Regions from separate parts of the Homo sapiens genome. Here regions 2, 3, 4, 5 and 6 are each linked to region 1. Evidence: promoter capture Hi-C in 16 types of primary human blood cells and fetal thymus (Javierre and others, 2016). All regions are on one chromosome and are shown on one strand. Each heading gives the region's core, a stretch centred on a gene start or on the middle of the fragment in contact. The rest is flanking DNA. Distances are from core to core; before and after follow the strand shown. Region 1 holds the start of OPRD1 (opioid receptor delta 1). Region 2 overlaps MECR (mitochondrial trans-2-enoyl-CoA reductase). Region 3 overlaps SRSF4 (serine and arginine rich splicing factor 4). Region 4 overlaps EPB41 (erythrocyte membrane protein band 4.1). Region 5 overlaps MECR (mitochondrial trans-2-enoyl-CoA reductase). Region 6 overlaps PHACTR4 (phosphatase and actin regulator 4).

Region 1 (3,138 bases), core at 76-2,575:
AAATCCACTCCCGCCCAGACCAACCTCTGCTGCCTCTGGCAGAAGAAAAGACTGTTAGAGGAGGCAAAGAGAAAATGGGAGAGGGCATTTGTGAGGAGGGCGTGAGTCTTCTCTGAATCCTATTCAGAATTCCTGACCAGATGGGCACTGGCGAAGGGAACAGAGAACCGGTTGGCGGCCCACAGCTGTCGCCCATGTTATCCAGGAATCACTGGCAAAGGCACACACAGCTGCACAAACACAGGGACGACGGCCACTCCGGATGCTCTGCCGCCCTCGGGGTTTCAAGAGCTTGACAAGAAACAACAGTCACATTGTTACATTCAGACAGAATCACAAACTGACCGTTAGGGACAAGCTCACACCAACAGATGAGCACCAAATATGACTTGGTAAGGGCCCCACGGCGAGGTGCTGACACCCAGCACCCTCCTGTCCGCCCTGCCTGCACGGTGCCCTCACACCGGTCTCCCCAAAGGCCCGCGGCACCTCAGAGCAGCTCTGCCCACCCCATGGGCATGTTTCCGACGTCCAAACATACAGTTGTACTGTCACAACCATCCACTCACAAACTGTGACAGACACACAAACTGACGCCAAACTGTCCCACAAAGAAGCAAGGGGATGCCAACAGATGATCAAATGTAATTTAGTCAACCGCGGCGCACTCCCCCCCCCGCACCACACACACACATACACACGATGACACACATTCCTGTGTTCCCCTCGATGTAAGTGGCCTCGCCTCTCGCTGGGCCCCAGGTGCCCCTGCAGGAAATGCGGAGGCGCGGGGAGTCCAGGGAACGGGCTTGGGGTCTCAAGTTCGTGATCCCCACCCTCACCCCGGGCTCCAGCCCTGCGGCGCCGGCCCGCAGCGGACTCACCGGACGATGCCGAACATGACAAGCACGTTGCCCAGCAGCCCCACGGCGCACACGGCCGAGTAGAGCGCGGTGATGGCGATTGCCAGGGCGAGGGACGAGGCGCTCCGCGCGCCTGGCGGCCCCGACGCATTGGCGCCAGCGCTGGGGCAGGCGCTAGGGTAGGCGTCCGAGGCGTTGGCGAAGAGCGGGGGCTGCAGCTCGGCGCCGGCGGAGGGGGCCGGTTCCATGGCTGCCGGCCGGCTCCGCCGCGTCCCTCTCCACCGTGCGCCCTGGGCGCGGGGATCCGACGCGAGGGGAGCGGCAAGGCAGAGGCCGCGGCCCCGACGCCGCCGGCTGCCGCGCCCCGGCCGCCCCGCTGTCTCTGCGCCTCGTCCGCCTGCCTCGCCGCCCGCACCGGCCCAGCCCCCGGCGTCCGCCCGCTCTCCTCGCCCGGAGCGCTGTGAGCCAGGAGCAGCCGCAGGCTCCTCGGACGCGCCCGCCGCGCGCACCACGTGGCCCGGAGGCGGCCGCCAGTCTGCGCCCGCGACCGGGGGCGGACGCTGCACCACCGGCTCGGAGCTGGGCAGGGGAGGCCTCCCGCCCCCTCCCTAGGGATGCTCCGCCGGCTCGAGTGCGACCCCGTCCCAACCTGGACTCCCCTCCCACCCCCTTGCCACTTTGGTGTCAGAGGGACCTGGGTGTGGATCCCGCCTCCCGCCCCTGCACTAACAGGCGGAGTGACCTTGTGTAAGTCACTTAACCTCCCTCAGCTTCATTCTCTTTGTCTGTGAGATGAGGAAAATCGTACCACCTCCCTCAGAGGGTGGTTGGGGAGATTGAATAAAATGATTCGAACAAAGAGCTTAGAGCAGTGCCCTGCGGACAGTTACATGCTCCGTAAATAACCTATATTATCCGTGCCTTTCTTGCACCCCATTCATTCGCTCAACAAAAATTCTGAGGGTGCCTAATAGAAGAGCCGGGTATTTGGGGGGACCCTCTAGTACACAAAACCAGATGCAGCCTCTGCTTCCTGGGGCTTACAGCCCAGTGCAGGAGAGAGAGCGAGCAACCCTAAAATGACATTAAGATATAGGTACGAATTGAGAAAGTGGCAGGGTCTACAAAACCCAGGGGTCAGGACAGCTTCCCTGGGGAAACGACACTTGAGGTGAGGTGTGAAGTTTGGGGAAGAACTAACTTAAGGAAGTAACAAGGGAAGAGGATTCCGGATAAAGGAAGCAGAGGGACTGAAAGGAAGCCAGGAAGAGGAGAAGGCAGGAAGTGAGGGGGCGATGAGGTGGTGGGCAGGCTCTTGAAGACCACCTTAAGGAGCACTCTGGCTGCAGTGCGAGCAGATAGAAGGGGGGCACTTGGCTAAGTCATCCTTGCCACACCCCTTCCAAGACCTAACCATTCCAGATTAGAGCCATCCTTCTTCTTGGGGTGCCTAGCCTTTCCAGAACATTCTACCAAGCATTACTTTGCTCCAGGCACTGTGATAAGCACTTTATCCATGCACCAACACTTTGGTGTAGCTTCTATTATTATTGTCCCCATGTTACAGATTTAGTGCTCAGCACTAAATTATCCCATATAGTAATTATTTCTATCCGAACTGGTCTCCCTCCTTAAAGGGACCAGGTCTGATTGACCCCTGCATCCAGGAGAGGGCTGGGGTCACAGCAGGTGCTCAAGAAATACTTTTTGGATAATAAAGATCCCAAAGGGAACTGGAGTGGAACAATATTAGGGGTTCTGAGCTCTAGGCTCTGGGGCAATGCTCTTGGATCTGTGTGTGGCTGGACAAGGAGCTCTCCCTCATCTCACCCTCTAGCTTGAATCATCCATATATGTGCAAGGCTCCTACCCTTTCCCAGAAAAAAGCAAAGCCAGAATTCCCAAGCTCACCCTCTTCTCCATTTTCTCCACCCCACTTAGCTGCTGTCCAGCCACTTCTACCAACTACAGCAAGCCCCCCACCCCAGGGCTTTCCCACTCAACCACCTAAGGACTTATCAGAAAGATTTTTGCTGTGGTCACCTGCTGCCAAAACTCTCTCCCTTTCCCAAAGGGCCTGGTACTCAGAAACTTTTCTAGTGCCAGCAGAGAGAAATTGGGATAGGAAGAAGGAGGGCTACTTTATTGGAATTCTGGTCCCCTCCCTAACCCTCCAAGCCAAGTTTTTTCCTACCTCAGGACATTTGTACATGCTATTCCTTCCACTCGGAAGGCTGGGCCAATACCCCAGCCTAAGCGTTATTTACCCCTCAAA
Region 2 (3,083 bases), core at 347-2,846, 390 kb before region 1:
AGAGGGAGACTCCGTCTCAAAAAATAAAAATAAAAGCTTCTTGAGCTAGAGTGTGTGTAAAAAGACACTTCCTAATTAAAGCAGGAACCCCCTCAATAGTACGGATTCAGCTAGCGCATACTTGCTGAGCACTTACTAGCTACCAGGTACAGAGAGGGCTGCGACACTGATGTGCCCTCTGAGAATTCACAGGCTTGATGAGCAGGTGAGTCACGTGGCCAGAGCACTGTGGTGAGTATTCACCATGCACCAGACTGTGTGCAGCGCTTGACTTACCCTTCCCACAACCACCTAGACAGGGGGTGCAGTTCTAACCTCTGTTTTATACTTTTAAACAATGAGGCCCAGGCCGGGCGCAGTGGCTCATGCCTGTAAACCTAGCACTTTGGGAGGCCGAGGCAAGTGGATCACCTGAGGTCAAAAATTCGAGACCATCCTGGCCAACATGGTGAAACCTCGTCTCTACTAAAAATACAAAAATTAGCCAGGCATGGTCGTGGGTGCCTGTAATCCCAGCTACTTGGGAGGCTAAGGCAGGAGAATTGCTTGAACCCAGGAGGTAGAGGTTGCAGTGAGCCAAGATCGTGCCATTGCACTCCAGCCTGGGCTTCAGAGAAACAGTGTGTCTCAAAAACAAACAAACAAAAAAAAACAAGGCCCAAAGAGGTCAAGTACCTGTCCCAAAGTCTAGGCAGCAGGAGAGCCAGGCTTGACCCCACATTTGAGCACACCGCTTCAGCCCTATACCTGACAGACAACCCCTGCGGCAGACCTCAATCCCAATGTCATTGCAGGGGGAAGCGTTGTTACGGGTGTAGGCACTGGAGCCAGAATGGCTGGGTTCAAGCCCCTGCTCTGTGACTTACTAGCTGTGGGCCTGTGGAAAGTTAGGCAATACGTGAAAAACAATCCAGGCCTCCGTCTCTTCATCTGTAAAATGGGGGTTATATAAACCCTCTGCCTCTGAAGGGTGGTCTAACACGGGTCCCCAGCCCCCAGGCCGCAGACCAGTACCAGTTCGTGGCCTGTTAGGAACCAGGTCACGCAGCAGGAGGTGAGCGGTGGGTGAGCGAGCATGGCCACCTGAGCTCCGCCTCCTGACAGATCAGTGGCAGCATTCGATTCTCATGGGCATGTGAACCCTATTGTGAAGCACGCAGGGAAGGGATCTAGGTCCCATGCTCCTTATGAGAATCTAATGCCTGAGAATCTGAGGCGGAACAGTTTCATCCCAAAACCATCTCCCCCACTCCAGTCCATGGAAAAATTGTCTTCCATGAAACCGGTCCTGGTGCCAACAAGGTTAGGGACCGCTGGTCTAAAGGACACTGGGCGATATACAAATTGCTGTACAAATGACGGATGGACTTCAGCTTTCTCATCTCTAAAACAAGGTTGTTACGAGGATTCCCTGAGGCAGTGCATGCAAAATGCTTAGAACTGTGCCTGGCACATAGTAGAAGCCTGGTAAGTGTCAGCTAGTCTGATTAGATGAAGTGCAGCAGGGATACAGAAGAGAGAGGGCTTGGCTCCCAGGAGCTACTTTCTACAGCAGGTGGCAGTCAAGGGGCACTTAAGACCAAACTACCCAGCAGCCTCAGGGACAGAAGTACCTGCCCTAGGACAGCAGCTCCTTCCATTTGGTAGTTTTGAAAGTCTACCTTGTGTTGTCCCCAAATGTGCCTGAGGTCATCCTTAATCAACAGACTCCTAGAAGAGCCAGGGAGTGGGGAGGTGAACATAGGTTAAGTCAAGTGAACTCCAGGCTTATTCACTTAAAAATTATGTTAGCCTCAATCCTGTATGTCAGCTGACATGGGGGTGTGGGTGTCAGACAGCAGGTACTGAGAAGGCACCTCCTGCAGTGAGAAGATGCTTGTCATTGTTCCCTGCACCGTCCACATCATTCCTTATCTGTAGAGCTGTTTCCTCACGTTGATTCTTAGAATGAGCACTGGCAGATGAAGAGATGAGGTCTGGGCCATTTTCACTGCATCACCCTAGGTCGGACACCTGTAAGTGAGAGCAGAGCCAAGGCTGAACTCAGGCCTCGAGCTCATCTGGGGAGAGCATGTTTCTTTTCAGCACTTAATCAAAGCCTGACTGGATGGGTTAGATCAGTGGATTCCCAATCCTGGCTAAACATACAAGTCATCCAGAGCGGGTGTGTGTGTGTGTTTAATATACATTCTCGTCTCCTGATTCATTGAGTCTGGGATTGGACCTAGGAATCTGGTTTCTTGGTTGTTTTGTTTTGTGTTGAGATGGTCTCACTGTGTTGCCTAGGCTGGAATGCAGCAGTGCAATCTCAGCTCACTGCAGCCTCAACCTCCCAGGCTCAAGTGATCTTCCCACCTCAGCCTCCTGAGTGGGGCCACAGGCATGTATCACCGTGCCCAGCTAATTTTTTTTTATTATTATTTATAGACACAGGGTCTCACTATGTTGCCCAGGCTGGTCTCAAACTCCTGGGCTCAGGCAATCCTCTCACCTTGGCCTCCCAAAGTGCTGGTATTACAGGTGTGAGCTGCCATCCCCAGCATGCATTTATTTATTCATTCATTCATTTATTTTCTGAGACAGGGTCTCACTCTGTTGCCCAGACTGGAGTGCAGTAGTGCGATCAGGGCTCACTGCAACCTCAATTTCATGGCCTCAGGTGATTCTCCCACCTCAGCCTCCTGAGAAGCTGGGACTACAGGCATGCCGCCTTGCCCAGCTAATTTTCTGTACTTTTTTTGTAGAGATGGGGTCTCCTTTTGTTGCCCAAGCTGGTCTTGAACTCCTGGGCTCAAGTGATCCACCTGCCTCAGCCTCCCAAAGTGCTGGGATTATAGGCATGAGCCACTGCTCCCAGCTGGAATCTGTATTTTTCAACCTTTCCCAGAGATTCTGAGAGCAGGGTTTATAAAGGAACCAGGGTTGGAGTAGAAGCGCCATGGCAGGTTCAGGAAGGGCTCTGTCTCTGCCTTGCATCCACTCTTTGTTCTCTTTGGACTTTTCAGGCGTGGAGGAACCATGGTAACCTATGGGGGGATGGCCAAGCAGCCCGTCGTAGCCTCTGTGGTAAGCTGGGTGCAGAG
Region 3 (3,227 bases), core at 543-3,042, 360 kb before region 1:
GTGCATATAACCAAATAACTTTCCAGAAAAGCTACACCAGTTACACTTAACACCCGCAGTGTATGAGCATGCCCGTGTGATGGGCACTTCAACAGCATGGAGTACCCCTGTTGTGTTTGCTGGCCAGGCGTGGTGGCTCACGTCTGTAATTCCAGCACTTTAGGAGGCCAAGGCGGGCGGATCACCTGAGGTCAGAAGTTCGAGACCAGCCTGACCAACATGATGAGACCCTGTCTCTACTGAAATTACAAAAATTAGCTGGGCATGGTGGTAGGCTCCTGCAATCCTAGCTACTCGGGAGGCTGAGGCAGGAGAACCGCTTGAACCCGGGAGGCGGAAGTTGCAGTGTGAGATCACACCATTCCACTCCAGCTTGGGTGACAGAGTGAGACTCTGTCTCAAAAATAAAAAATAAAAATAAAAGATGCTAATTTACCAAGTGAAAAATAATCAGGAAGTTTTTCTTGAATGAATAATAAATAGAGATAGGACTATGAATTAAGTAGCATTCTGTCATTGTTTTATTAGTAATATAACTATTACAAATGTGATCAAATTTTTTTTTATTAAAAGTCACTTTTTAAAGTCAACTTACCCCCCAAAAAAGTGTATTATTTTTTTCCCCCAATATATGGGGAATTTAATTTTTTTCTGTCATTTTGAAAAATCAATGCCAAGAGATAATACCATATTGAGATTTTTGACCAAATGTTAACAGCGTAAATTGCCCTGGTTCAAGACCTCCACTCCTTGGTTCTTGGTCCCTTCAGTTTGTGGTATGAATAAACATCATTTGTAATTATTTGACTAAGTCATTTAAAATCCCTGTTCTTCAGTTTAATATACTGTTTTGCTCCTCCTTTCTCATTGAGGTACTGTATGAATTTAAGGGCCATACGAAGTATTTGTCCCTTCTTAAAAGATAGGCACAGGATATAGACTCGGTAATAAAATGTGGTTTGGGTTTCTAGTATTTTTTTATGCTTCCAGGTACCCAGAACCGCAAATTTTACTTTGAGCTCCTCAGAAGAAAGGTGCTCCAGGCATCTGAGAGAATACCGTTGGGGTGATACTTACAAATTTGTAAGCTAACACTGAAATCTTAAAACTTCCGAAAATATTAATGCATTTGTATGACTTATTTTTCAACTGAGTATGTCAAAGTACTTTATGAACAAGTGTTGTCCCTAGTTTGTACTGATGGGGAAACTGAGGCATGGGGTGATAAGGTGACTGGCCCAAGGTTACAAAATGAGTTATTGACAACTCCGGAAATAGAAGATTTTTTAAATTCCCATACTAGATACATGTGGGCATTGACATTCAAAGCTTCCCTCATGCTATTTCCTTTAGTCCTGTCCTTTGGGGATTGCCTCTGAGGGTGAGAGGGTAGTTCAGGTTTCCGGGCTTGTTCAGCCTTTAGTCTCTGTAGAGGCTTCCAGCAAGCTGACAAGTTACTGCCAAAAGTGAGACAGATGGTATTTTTTATGATGTTGTCCTTAGTTGGAGACTGCTAGTGATTCTCCTCCTCAGGCTACTCTTTGAAAAGCTGTAAGGTGGTATCAGCTTTATCGTGGTTGGCTGAGGAAGGATTTGTACAAGTAAATGTTCTCTGCCTTATTGTCATTCCTAGGGCCGTCTGGTCTTATAGTACCCTGAAGGTGAGGGATTAGATTATGCTCTGAATTTGTATGCCCATAGTTTGAGGAAATGTTTTACTTGAGTTTTCTGTGTGTTGAGATGAAAGTCTCCCAGGCTAAAGATTTCTGAACTGCACGCAATGTCTGAAGAAGCGCTTGAAAGGCACTTTATTTCTCCCAGGTCCCCAACCATGGGTTTAGGTTTTTATGCCAGAAAGGGGACCTTCATGAACAAAGACCCCCAAGACCTAGAGAGAAGAGGAAGTCTGAAAGAGGGAGGTTTGAATTCAGCCTTCAGGAATGAAGAGGGCAGACAGAGCAGGAGGCTCAGGCAAGGGAGTCAGGAACCACAGACCAGAAACATGGACTTGGAAAGGTTTTCATGTAATTGAAATGAAGCTATTGATCCATCCATTTTAAAAGAATTTGAAAAATTCATTAAAATACTTAATTAGTGGCATCCACTAATTAATAAAAGCATAGGGAGTGGCATCTTTAACCAAAAATGAAAATGAAGAAACAGACTCCAGCCCAGGGACCAGGGGCGATTATGAGGGACATGGTGCCTCATACAGCCAAGATGATCCAAGAGGCATCATCTTTAATGAAGCTTTAACACCTGGCAGCCTGCTCATTGTGTTGTTTAAGAGGTAAGTATGAACTGGTTTTGTTTGTAGCTTTTGTGTGGAATCAGGTAGTGCTGTCTGCAGAGTGTAAACCTTTATTTCTTTAAGTAGGAATAACAGATAAAGTAATTCTATATTAAATCCCAAGAGTTTTATTCTAAATTGGTAATGTGACTTTCATCTCTCGAGTTTTTTCAAATCGTTTTTAATTTGTGGTTGAGTCTTCACGAACTTCTTGTCATCAGGCAATAGTTGATTCCCCTTTTTTGAAAGCTTTCAATTTCATTTATCCTTAGTGTTGAAAAGTGTCAGAAAATTGAAATGGACACAGATGATTGTATCTGCCCTCCCTTTCAGGAAAGCCATGTTGACTTTAAAATATCAAAAAAGAAAGTTCAGTTATGATTGCAGGGGGTAATGATAGTTTGATCCACAAACTATTTGCAGTGTAAAAGTGAAATACCTTAGCTGACTTAGTTCATTTTTGAAAGTTTTGAATAGCTAAAACAAAGTTGGCAAATAGGCTCATAGAGTAGTTACAGAGTAAGACTAAATTCATATTTGATGCAGATTCCTCTCTACCTCCCATTCTGGGAGGATTTAGTTTTACTGTTTGGTGTTTAGGATAATGATTGTTCTGTTTTTCTCACCCTACTATGTGAATATATATTCTGTTAGAGATGGGCTGTTATCTGCAATGTGGACTCAATACCATGGGCTTGAGTTTGGTTAGTTCATCATTAGAGATTTTTTTTCAGCAGTTGGTTTACTTTATGAGAAAGGATCATGAGTTTAATTTTCCCACTGATATATTTGTGTTCTCATTGCTGAGATATAAGTTTCTTAATGATTTGTTACCTTTTTCTATTTTCCTAGACTAGTATTAAAATTTTGATGGCATATGGGTTTGGTTCCACTTGTAGAGAATAAATGTTCACAACTTACTGGTATTAGCACACAC
Region 4 (3,227 bases), core at 226-2,725, 270 kb before region 1:
ATTTAGAGGTAGAAGCGATATTATCAGGAAAGTGATTTAAAATGTGGTTTTTGGCCAGGTGTGGTGGCTCACGCCTGTAATCCTAGCAATTTGGGAGGCTGAGGCAGGCGGATCATTTGAGATCAGGAGTTCGAAACCAGCCTGGCCAACATGGTGAAACCCCATCTCCACTAAAAATACAAAAAAATTAGCCGGGCATGGTGGCGGGTGCCTGTAATCCCAGTTACTCAGGAGGCTGAGGCATGAGAATCACTTGAACCCAGGAGGCAGAGGTTGCAGTGAGCCAAGGTCATGCCACTGCACTCCAGCCTGGCAACTGAGTGAGACTCCAACTCAAAAAAAAAAAAAAAAAAAAGAAGATCAAAGTATTTCCAAAACTGATCTAAACAATAACTTTAGGTTAGTGATATACACTATAGATTGATTCTATCACATCACAATTCATATCCAGAATGATTTATATTTCTTAAAATATTACTTTTTGCAAAGTAACGTGAACCAAAGCAATAAAGACAGGAAGTCCCTACATGGTGTTTCTTGAACTCCTGAAGTGGGCCAAGCCTATGGATTTAACTAAAATTGGGCTTCCTTTCAGCTTTTGTTAGCAAGTTCTCAAACAGGTCCTCATTATATTTTAGAGAACATCACAACTTTGAAGAAAGAAATTGTGACAGGAGAATTAAAATGGGTATACTATGAGGCTATTTCATAAATATTCCCGAACCAAGATCCTCAGGAAGAATACCATTTATAATGGATAGTTTTGGGATACATACTGTCTGTTAAGAAAGAAAATAGAATATTTCTGATTAGTCACACAATTTACAACTATTTTAAAATGTCAGAGATTTATTACTGTTTCTAGCCTCAAAGCTTATCTTTCTATATTGCTATTACCCACACATTTGCTCCTTGAAATTACTAAATTTTCCTCAAAATGAGAGTCTGAGATTTAGCATATACCTCTGCAGTCACTTTACACAATTGTAATCCCCAATCCACTACATCCGTTAAGCTATACCATTGTTTTCCACATTATCTTCATTTTATTTTGCATTCTGTCAAGTAAAATGAGATTTAAGGCTGGCCTTGTAAGTACTGCTTAATGATATAACCAATGCTGTAATCAGTCACCATCATCTGTGCAATGACTTTGTGGCTTGCTGAAATGCAAATATGTGAGGAAAATTTAACACATAAAACTTTTATTAGTGTTTCTATACGTCTGGGAAAAGTGATTCATTAAACTTTTTAATAAGATTGACATAGATTGAGAAAAAGAAGTTTTGATAAGTAAAAGGAAGTGAACAGAGATGGCAGTGGGAATAGGGGATGAGGGTGCACAGACACACATACACCCACAGAGCACATTACCCTTGCTTTGCAAACCCAGTAAGAAATGCTTTGCAGTGCAAATGACCACAGAACCAGCAGGAATCGAGGTTATCTTGCTAAGCACAGAAGAAGATACCCAGCAGAAGAGTCCAGCTCCTGGTTCTTAACTAAAGTAAACAATAAATATCATAGTCACTTAAATTATCAACAATGTATTTAAGTAATACCCCCAGATGGTCTACAACATGCAAACTAAAAAATGTAGAATTTAATCCTGATAAGATCAGTTAATTGCGAGTGCTTTGCTTCTATATTCTTCTCTTTAACAAAACATGACAAGATTAAGTCTCAGCAAAGAATGGCTTTAAGTGCCTAGGGGAAAACCTCTTAAGAGCAAAACATATGTCTTTATACATTAATATTAATATTTGTAATTTCCTATTTTGAAAAATTATATCAGCATTTCCCTAGGTTGTATAATAATCAGTAGGCACATTAGCCTGATGATTAAAACAATTTTTTTTAAGTTAAAACAAATGCTTTTAAATGGGCACTTGCAATAAAAGATAAATCAGATGTGGTAATGGCTTCTTTTGCAAAAGCCATGTGTAAACAGCACATAAAGATGACAAGTCAAGCAGTAGGAGCCCATTCTTCAGCCAAAAAAGGAAACAAATGAAGACAGAAGAACAAAAATTACCGAAAGGAGAAACATCCTCTGGTTCCCACCCCCAAAAGCTTGTAAATAATAGTTTTGTACAGTTTCAGTGGACAACTCAGGCCACTTAGAAGTTTGAAAAAGGACATTAGAATCACAAGCACTCAAGATGGGGATAAACTAACAACAGAGTAACCATGGGCTAGCAAAAGGTGATGTTAAAATTCTGTCTTTCCTTTCTAGTGTGACATTCTTTATCATGCAATACATTTCTCTTCATTCTAATTTTTCTCTCTTGGATGTACCCTCTCTCGCCTTTTTTTTTTCAAGGTTGTATGCTATTAGTTTCTAGCTAGAAATATATCCTTATAGTGCTCACTAGCTTCTCCATGAAACTCAGAGTCATTTTCACAGTCTATTGCTATTCTCTGGTATATAAAGATTACATTTGTATAAAATCTGGATAAAGGGGCTTATTCCGGAAGATGTGGGCCTTTACTAGAGTTGATAAAATTGCTTATGATAGGAAAATAATTCCACAATGCAGCCTCTCACAAAGGACAGCAAATGAAATTAGCCAATGATAATTATCTGTCAAACATTGTTTTTATAATTTCCTAAATAGTGCTGTTATTAGATTATCCCCAGAATAGGTGAACGTAAAAGCAAACAGCTTCAAAATCCATGCCGGATGCAAAATTTTAACTATTAGGTAATAGAAAATTTTGCCTTTACACTGCACTCACCAGCAAGGACTCCACAGATCAAATGAGTGTTCTCAAATCTGAATAGATCTACAGAGGTCAAAGTGCTTGGGCAAATATTAAAGGTTATACTAAGCATGTCTAACAGACCAGAAGCGTTTGGTGGTCAGTTTTATTTCATTACACTATGAAGGGTAGGGGTGGAGGGATGAAGGTGGAGAAAAAGGAGCTATGACCAGTACAAAAACTCTGAAGTTAGAATGGAACAAAATTGAATTTGTTTGGCTGGATTTCACAGAAGTCTCAGTTCTAAAAATTGATTAAAGTCATAATAAGCATTTAAGAAAATTTGATATCTAGAAAACAGTTACCTTGAGGTTAGGCCCAGTGGCTCACGCCTGTAATCCCAGCACTTTGGGAGGCTGAGGTGGGCAGATCACTTCAGGTCAGGAGTTCGAGACCAGCCTGACCAACCTGGTGAAACCCCATCTCTACTAAAAATACAAAATTAGCCAGGCGTGGTGGCGGGT
Region 5 (3,304 bases), core at 404-2,903, 400 kb before region 1:
TGCAGGTTTTGCCCATTAAGCAAAGTTTCACTGGGATAAAGATGTTGCCACCATGGTGTCCAAGACCCACCATGAGCAGAGGGACTTACCACTTAACATGGAAGAGGCTTCCAGAGGGGATCAGGTCCAAACCACCACTGCAACTCTGTTTTACAAATGGAGAAACAGAAGCCTAGAGCAGAGAAGAAACTTGCCCATGGTGACCCAGGCATCCTGCAGTGGAGCTTTATACCCAGGACCTTCAGCCCTCCACCCAGGGTCTTTTCTGCCAGACAAGAATCCTCCTCCAGAAGGGACATCACTCAGAGTGAATCACAGCCATCCAGGGAGTTCTTTGTGAACTACATAGGCCATCTCCCCATTACGCCCACACTCTGCAACTAACAGAAATATCTCCTCTCCCCTGTATATGTTAGGACCAAGAATAAAATCAAACATGTGGAGGACATGTCAGCTAGCCTGGGATTTCCAAGATACCCCGGTTGGTAAGAACTACTTGGGGTGCCCTCATCTGGAGATTCTGGCTTAGTAGATCAGAGGTGGGCCTGATAATTTATATCCATGAGCATACCAGGTAATTCTTATAACTAAGCGAGTTTTGGAAAACACAGGGCTCATCTAGGCCAGCAGAGGTTTCCTGTCCCAGAGTGGGCAGTGGGGTTGAAAGACCGGGCACAGTGGCTCACACCTGTAATCCCAGCACTTTAGGAGGCCGAGGCAGGCAGATCACGAGGTCAGGAGTTCAAGACCAGCCTGGCCAACATAGTGAAACCCCATCTCTACTAAAAAAATAAATAAATAAAATTAGCCGGGCGTGGTGGCAGGCACCTCTAGTCCCAGCTACTTGGGAGGCTGAGGCAGGAGAATCGCTTGAACCTGGGAGGCGGAGCTTTTAGTGAGCCGAGATTGTGTCACTGCACTCCAGCCTGGGTGACACAGTGAGACTCTGTCTAAAAAAAAAAAAAAAAACACTGTGGGTTTTCCACTTGCAGTTAATGAGAGTCAACCTCTATCCTATGTTGATTTCTTTTTTTTTTTTTTTTTTTTTTTTTTGAGACAAAGTCTTGCTTTGTCACCCAGGCTGGATGGCACAATCTCAGCTCACTACAACCTCTGCCTCCCACGTTGAAGCAATTCTTCTGCCTCAGCCACCCGAGTAGCTGGGATTACAGGCGCCGACCACCACGCCCAGCTAATTTTTGTATTTTAGTAGAGACAGGTTTTCACCATGTTGGCCAGGCTGGTCTTGAACTCCTGACCTCAGGTTATCCGCCTGTCTCGGCCTTCCAAAGTGCTGGGATTACAGGCGTGAGCCACCACGCCCAGCCTCCTGTGTTGATTTCTTATGGTACCTCTCTTTTATAACAGAACCGTAATTCCTGGGCACACATGGCAGCTCAGAAATGTTGCCTGACCTACTTTGAGGAGATGATTTGAGCGAAACACCCATTCTAGCCTGGATGACATGAACATCTCCGTTTGGCTTTGTGCTTAGACTCAAGAACCTGGAGCTAGCTGCTGTGAGAGGATCAGATGTCCGTGTGAAGATGCTGGCGGCCCCTATCAATCCATCTGACATAAATATGATCCAAGGTAACCTTGGTTTCTGTGGCTTATGTTAATTGGCTTTTTTGTTCAGCTGCCACCTCATTTTCATTCCTCCTCAGGTGTGGGTGTGAAATGCCTGTGATTAGCAGCAGCTGTTCTCCAGATGAGCCGTCTGCAGGCTGTGTCAGCCCTGTCTGGCCTCCCTTTTCTGGAATGTGTGGCTTTTTGAGAAGATTGCAGTGGGGAGTAAACTAAGCATTGTGAAGTGCCTGCGACATGCTGGTTTCATTTCATATGTTACCTGATTTTCATGATAACCATGAACACTAAAGAATATTGTCCCCCTATACAGACAAGCAAGCTAAGGCTCAGAGGTTGGTTAGGCAGACAGTCCAAAGCAGAGCCCAGATCAGGCCTAGGATGGCGTGGACTCAAGTCCATGCTCTTTCACTGCCCAAACATCACTGGTTGACCCTTTAATGCTCTTCTCCCTCAGGAAACTACGGATTCCTTCCTGAACTGCCTGCTGTTGGAGGGAACGAAGGTGTTGCACAGGTGGTAGCGGTGGGCAGCAATGTGACCGGGCTGAAGCCAGGAGACTGGGTGATTCCAGCAAATGCTGGTTTAGGTGAGTTTCTCCAGGTGTCAGCTGCCTATTCGTTCTTCCAGATCCTATTTCACCCACTCTGTCGGCATCCACTGATTGGCCGAGTGTACCTGGGTAATGCAGGGTTTATTTTTTTTATTTATTTATTTATTTTGAGACGGAGTTTTGCTCTTATTGCCCAGGCTGGAGTGCAATGGCGCGATCTCAGCTCACCAAAACCTCCGCCTCCCCAGTTCAAGTGATTCTCCTGCCTCAGCCTCCCAAGTAGCTGGGATTACAGGCGCCTACCACCACGCCCGGCTAATTTTTGTATTGTTAGTAGAGATGGGGTTTCACCATGTTGGCCAGGCTGGGTCTCAAACTCCTGACCTCAGGGATCCGCCTGCCTCGGCCTCCCAAAATGCTGGGACTGCAGGCCTGAGCCACCACGCTTGGCCTTGTTTTGTTTTTTTTTGAGACAGGGTCTCACTTTGTCACCTGTGCTGGAGTGCAGTGACGCGATCTCGGCTTACTGCAGCCTCCCAGGTTCAAGCGATTCTCCTGCCTCAGCCTCCCGAGTAGCTGGGATTACAGGTGTACACCATCACGCCCGACAAATTTTTGTATTTTTAGTAAAGAGGGGGTTTTATCATGTTGACCAGGCTGGTCTCAAACTCCTAACCTCAGGTGACCCACCACTCAGCCTCCCAAAGTGCTGGGATTACAGGCATGAGCCACTGTGCCGAGTCTGAATTTTGTTTATACATGGAGATGAGCCAAAATTCACTTCATGTGGAGGATGTAAAATGAGGAAAGACACAAAGGTGAGATTGGGAAATGGTGGAAAATCCATTGTAGCCTCAGCAGAGGGTTTGCATATGGGAGAGGATTGCACGAGTGAGAAAGAAGGCCAGAAAGGCAGGTTCAATCACGTGAGCCCAGGAGTTCTAGGCTACAGTGAGCTATGATCGCACCATTGCACTCCAGCCTGGGCAACAGAGTGAGACCCTGTCTATTTTTTTTTAAAAAGGTAGCTTGTGTCCACATGGGGTAAGGCCCTGCCCAAGCCAAGCTAATGAGTAGGATTTTGTTTGATATATTATAAGGAGTCATAGGTGAGTTTTGTTTTTAGCACTTAACAGTTTTCAAGGCACGTCTGTTATTGATCCT
Region 6 (3,286 bases), core at 5-2,504, 410 kb after region 1:
GAAAACCAAATAACTTCAAAGGAACAAGTTTCCTGGCAATGTGAATACCGAAAAGTGGTAAAAGAAATAAATCATGCCATATCACTTAACAGTAGAGACATACTAAACTCAAAAAATATTTATACACAGCAGAAATTTCATCAACACAAAATTATTCATCATATATATATTTTTTGAGACAGAGTCTTGCTCTGTCGCCCAGGCTGGAGTGCAGTGGCATGACCTTGGCTTACTATAACCCCCGCCTCCTGGATTCAAGCGATTCTCCTGCCTCAGCCTCCCCAGTAGCTGAGATTACCGGCATGTGCCACCACACCCAGCTAATTTTTGTATTTTTAGTAGAGATGGGGTTCCACCATGTTGGCCAGGCTGGTCTTGAACTCCTGACCTCTGGTGATCCACCCGCCTCGGCCTCCCAAAGTGCAGAGATTACAGATGTGAGCCACCGCACCCAGCCTTTCCTACCTCTTTACACAGCTAATTCCTTTAAATCTCAAGCTTGGCTAACGTGTCTTCCGGAATACCTTCTGTATTAGGGTTCTTCTCAGAAACAGAACCAGTAGGATGGATACAAAACATACATATTTGAGATCTGATAAAACTATTGCCTCAAAAGTGCTTCTTTTTGAATATCAGTATTTAATTAATTAAATTTTTTTTTCTTTTTTGAGACAGAGTCTTGCTCTGTCACCCAGGCTGGAGTGCAGTAGCGCGATCTTGGCTCACTGCAACCTCCAGCTCCCAGGTTCAAGCAATTCTCCTGCCTCAGCCTCCCAAGTAGCTGGGATTATAGGCATGTGCCCCCACGCCCGGCTAATTTTTGTGTTTTTGGTAGAGACAGGGTTTCACCATGTTCACCAGGCTGGTCTCGAACTCTTGACCTCAAGCGATCCGCCTGCCTTAGCCTCCCAAAGTGCTGGGATTACAGGCATGAGCCACCGTGCTCGGCCTATTTTATTTTTTGAGACAGGGTCTGTCTACTCTGTTGCCCAGGCTGGAGTGCGGTGGCATGATCTCGGCTCACTGCAACCCTCCGCCTGTGGGGTTCAAGTGATTCTCCTGCCTCAGCCTCCTGAGTAGCTGGGACTACAGACACATGCCACTATGCCTGGCTAATTTTTTGTATTTTTAGTAGAGACGGGGTTTCACCATGCTGGCCAGGCTGGTCTCAAACTCCTGACCTCATGATCTGCCCACCTTGGCCTCCCAAAGTTCCAGGATTACAGGCGTGAGCCACCCCGGCCAGCCACCCAACAGATATTTAATGCTGCTGTTGCTAATGGCAGCCACAGCCTTGGTGGTGTTAACATAGGTATATGAGAATTCTAAAATATATTATCCTCTTCCCACCTTTAACAGAACTCTTCGAATGTATCAATTCCTCAACTTGGTAACTGTGGCTAGGTCAGTTCAGTGAAAGAAACACAGAAGCATGTACTGCAGGCTAGAAACTTGATATTAAAAGCAAAAATTAGGCCAGCGGCGGTGGCTCATGCCTGTAATCCCAGCACTTTGGGAGGCCGAGGCGGGCGGATCATGAGGTCAGGAGATCAAGACCATCCTGGCCCAAATGGTGAAAACCCGTTTCTACTAAAAATACAAAAACAACAACAACAACAAAAAATTAGCAGGGCATGGTGGCACGCACCTGTAGTCCCAGCTACTCGGGAGGCTGAGGCAGAGGAATCGCTTGAACCCAGGAGGTGGAGGTTGCAGTGAGCCGAGACTGCGCCACTGCACGCCAGCCTGGCGACAGAGAAAGACTCAAAAAAAAAAAAAAAAGCAAAAATTATTTTTTTCTCAATTACCCTAATAATAGCTTCATTCCTTGTTTCATTTTGAATGTCCAAGATAGCCTCAGATTGTACATACAAATATAAATTAATCTACTCAGATGGAAACCGTCAAGAATGAAATTATTTTCTGCCTTTTCTATTCCTTTCTGGGTAATTGCTGTAACGCTAGACCCGTGTTATTCAAAATAACCTTCTCCCTCCTGAGAAAGCTTAACAAGCCAGGCAAAAATCAAAAGAACAAAAGTTTACTGGTTAAGAGAACTTGCATTATCTTTCATTGGACAAATTAGCACAAGTTAGTTTCAAATATCAATCATATACAAACTGGTTAATGATTTTGGTTACAAAAGATAATATTGCAGAATAATTTAACCTTCTTGTCTTTGGGGATTCAAGTGGGATTAATAATACTCATCTTTAATGAGAATCTCATGAAATAGCATTTATTATAAAATAAAACAGGAAGAAATGGGCTGTGCCTGGCATATAGTTGGCAGTCTTAAAGCTCACCTCACTCCTCCATTTCAGTTCTAAAACAAAAAAAGCAGTTTTTAATTCTATCATGATTCAAAGCCTGATCAAAATACACAATGTCTAAAAACACCATCAAGATAATGAAACCTAAATTTACATTGGCAGACTGAACAACTAAAGTGTTATTTCCACATTTTCTTGGACTTGATTTAAAAGCATATCACGGCCAGGCACGGTGGCTCACACCTGCAATCCCAGCACTTTAGGAGGCCGAGGCGGGTAGATCACCCGATGTCAGGAATTTGAGACCAGCCTGGCCAACACGGTGAAACCCCGTCTCTACTAAAAATACAAAAAAAAAAAAAAAAAAAGAAAGAAAGAAAGAAAGAAATTAGCCGGGCGTGGTGGTGTAAGCCTGTAATCTCAGCTACTCAGGAGGCTGAGGCAGGAGAATCGCTTGAACCCAGGAGGCAGAGGTTGCAGTGAGCCGAGATTGCGCCATTGCACTCCAGCCTGGGAGACAAGAACAAAACACCGTCTCAAAAAAAAAAAAAGCACATCACTAGAGAAAATTAAGAAAGTAATAAGGTATCTATTCTTCTAGAGTGACCTTCAGATGCTACTACATTAATATAAGGAGTAAATACTGTAATCTACACGCATCTTTATTATCTTCTTTTTTTTTTGAGACAGAGTTTCGCTTTGTCACTCAGGCTGGAGTGCAATGGTGCGATCTCAGCTCACTGCAACCTCCGCCTCCCAGGTTCAAGTGATTCTTCCGACTCAGCCTCCCGAGTAGCTGGGATTAAAGGTGCATACCACCACGCCCAGCTAATTTTTGTATTTTTGTAGAGACGAGATTTCACCATGTTGGCCAGGCTGGTCTTGAACTCCTGACCTCAAATGATCCGCCTGCCTCGACCTCCCAAAGTGCTCGGATTACAGGCATGAGCCACCGTGCCTGGCTACATGCATCTTTATTATCTGTCACCAATTTACCCTTTTCCCTGGAAATC

Evidence for each region. The method cuts DNA at HindIII sites, captures the fragments that hold promoters and counts their contacts. A CHiCAGO score of 5 or more calls a contact.
Region 2: a contact is called between a fragment that was not itself captured here and the fragment with the promoter of OPRD1 in region 1, in 2 of 17 cell types (naive B cells and M0 macrophages). The highest score is 5.1, in naive B cells.
Region 3: a fragment that was not itself captured here is called in contact with the fragment with the promoter of OPRD1 in region 1 in 4 of 17 cell types (M1 macrophages, naive B cells, naive CD4 T cells and 1 more); the score reaches 5.6 in M1 macrophages.
Region 4: a fragment that was not itself captured here is called in contact with the fragment with the promoter of OPRD1 in region 1 in 1 of 17 cell types (megakaryocytes); the score reaches 5.2 in megakaryocytes.
Region 5: a fragment that was not itself captured here is called in contact with the fragment with the promoter of OPRD1 in region 1 in 6 of 17 cell types (non-activated CD4 T cells, neutrophils, naive CD8 T cells and 3 more); the score reaches 9.0 in non-activated CD4 T cells.
Region 6: a contact is called between a fragment that was not itself captured here and the fragment with the promoter of OPRD1 in region 1, in 2 of 17 cell types (total CD4 T cells and activated CD4 T cells). The highest score is 5.8, in total CD4 T cells.

Annotation. Positions count from the first base shown.
Region 1 is chr1:28,810,357-28,813,494 of GRCh38, reverse strand. It overlaps OPRD1 (opioid receptor delta 1), which reads right to left and starts at 1,325. Exons shown (of 3, transcript NM_000911.4): 1 at 885-1,325. The coding sequence starts at 1,111. The HindIII fragment of the contact is 20,164 bases long and covers 1-3,138 here.
Region 2 is chr1:29,196,181-29,199,263 of GRCh38, reverse strand. It overlaps MECR (mitochondrial trans-2-enoyl-CoA reductase), which reads left to right. Exons shown (of 10, transcript NM_016011.5): 8 at 3,006-3,066. Among named protein-coding and RNA genes, the nearest start is that of SRSF4, 16 kb to the right of the region's middle. RefSeq lists an enhancer at 487-987. The HindIII fragment of the contact is 3,116 bases long and covers 39-3,083 here.
Region 3 is chr1:29,169,486-29,172,712 of GRCh38, reverse strand. The region is part of intron 1 of SRSF4 (serine and arginine rich splicing factor 4); the gene reads left to right. It also overlaps a transcript of MECR not described here. Among named protein-coding and RNA genes, the nearest start is that of SRSF4, 11 kb to the left of the region's middle. The HindIII fragment of the contact is 921 bases long and covers 1,332-2,252 here.
Region 4 is chr1:29,082,270-29,085,496 of GRCh38, reverse strand. The region is part of intron 16 of EPB41 (erythrocyte membrane protein band 4.1); the gene reads right to left. Among named protein-coding and RNA genes, the nearest start is that of TMEM200B, 40 kb to the left of the region's middle. The HindIII fragment of the contact is 1,200 bases long and covers 876-2,075 here.
Region 5 is chr1:29,214,877-29,218,180 of GRCh38, reverse strand. It overlaps MECR (mitochondrial trans-2-enoyl-CoA reductase), which reads left to right. Exons shown (of 10, transcript NM_016011.5): 2 at 1,496-1,593; 3 at 2,045-2,176. Among named protein-coding and RNA genes, the nearest start is that of MECR, 14 kb to the left of the region's middle. The HindIII fragment of the contact is 3,428 bases long and covers 1-3,304 here.
Region 6 is chr1:28,396,201-28,399,486 of GRCh38, reverse strand. All of the region lies in intron 1 of PHACTR4 (phosphatase and actin regulator 4), which reads right to left. Among named protein-coding and RNA genes, the nearest start is that of PHACTR4, 28 kb to the right of the region's middle. The HindIII fragment of the contact is 1,507 bases long and covers 501-2,007 here.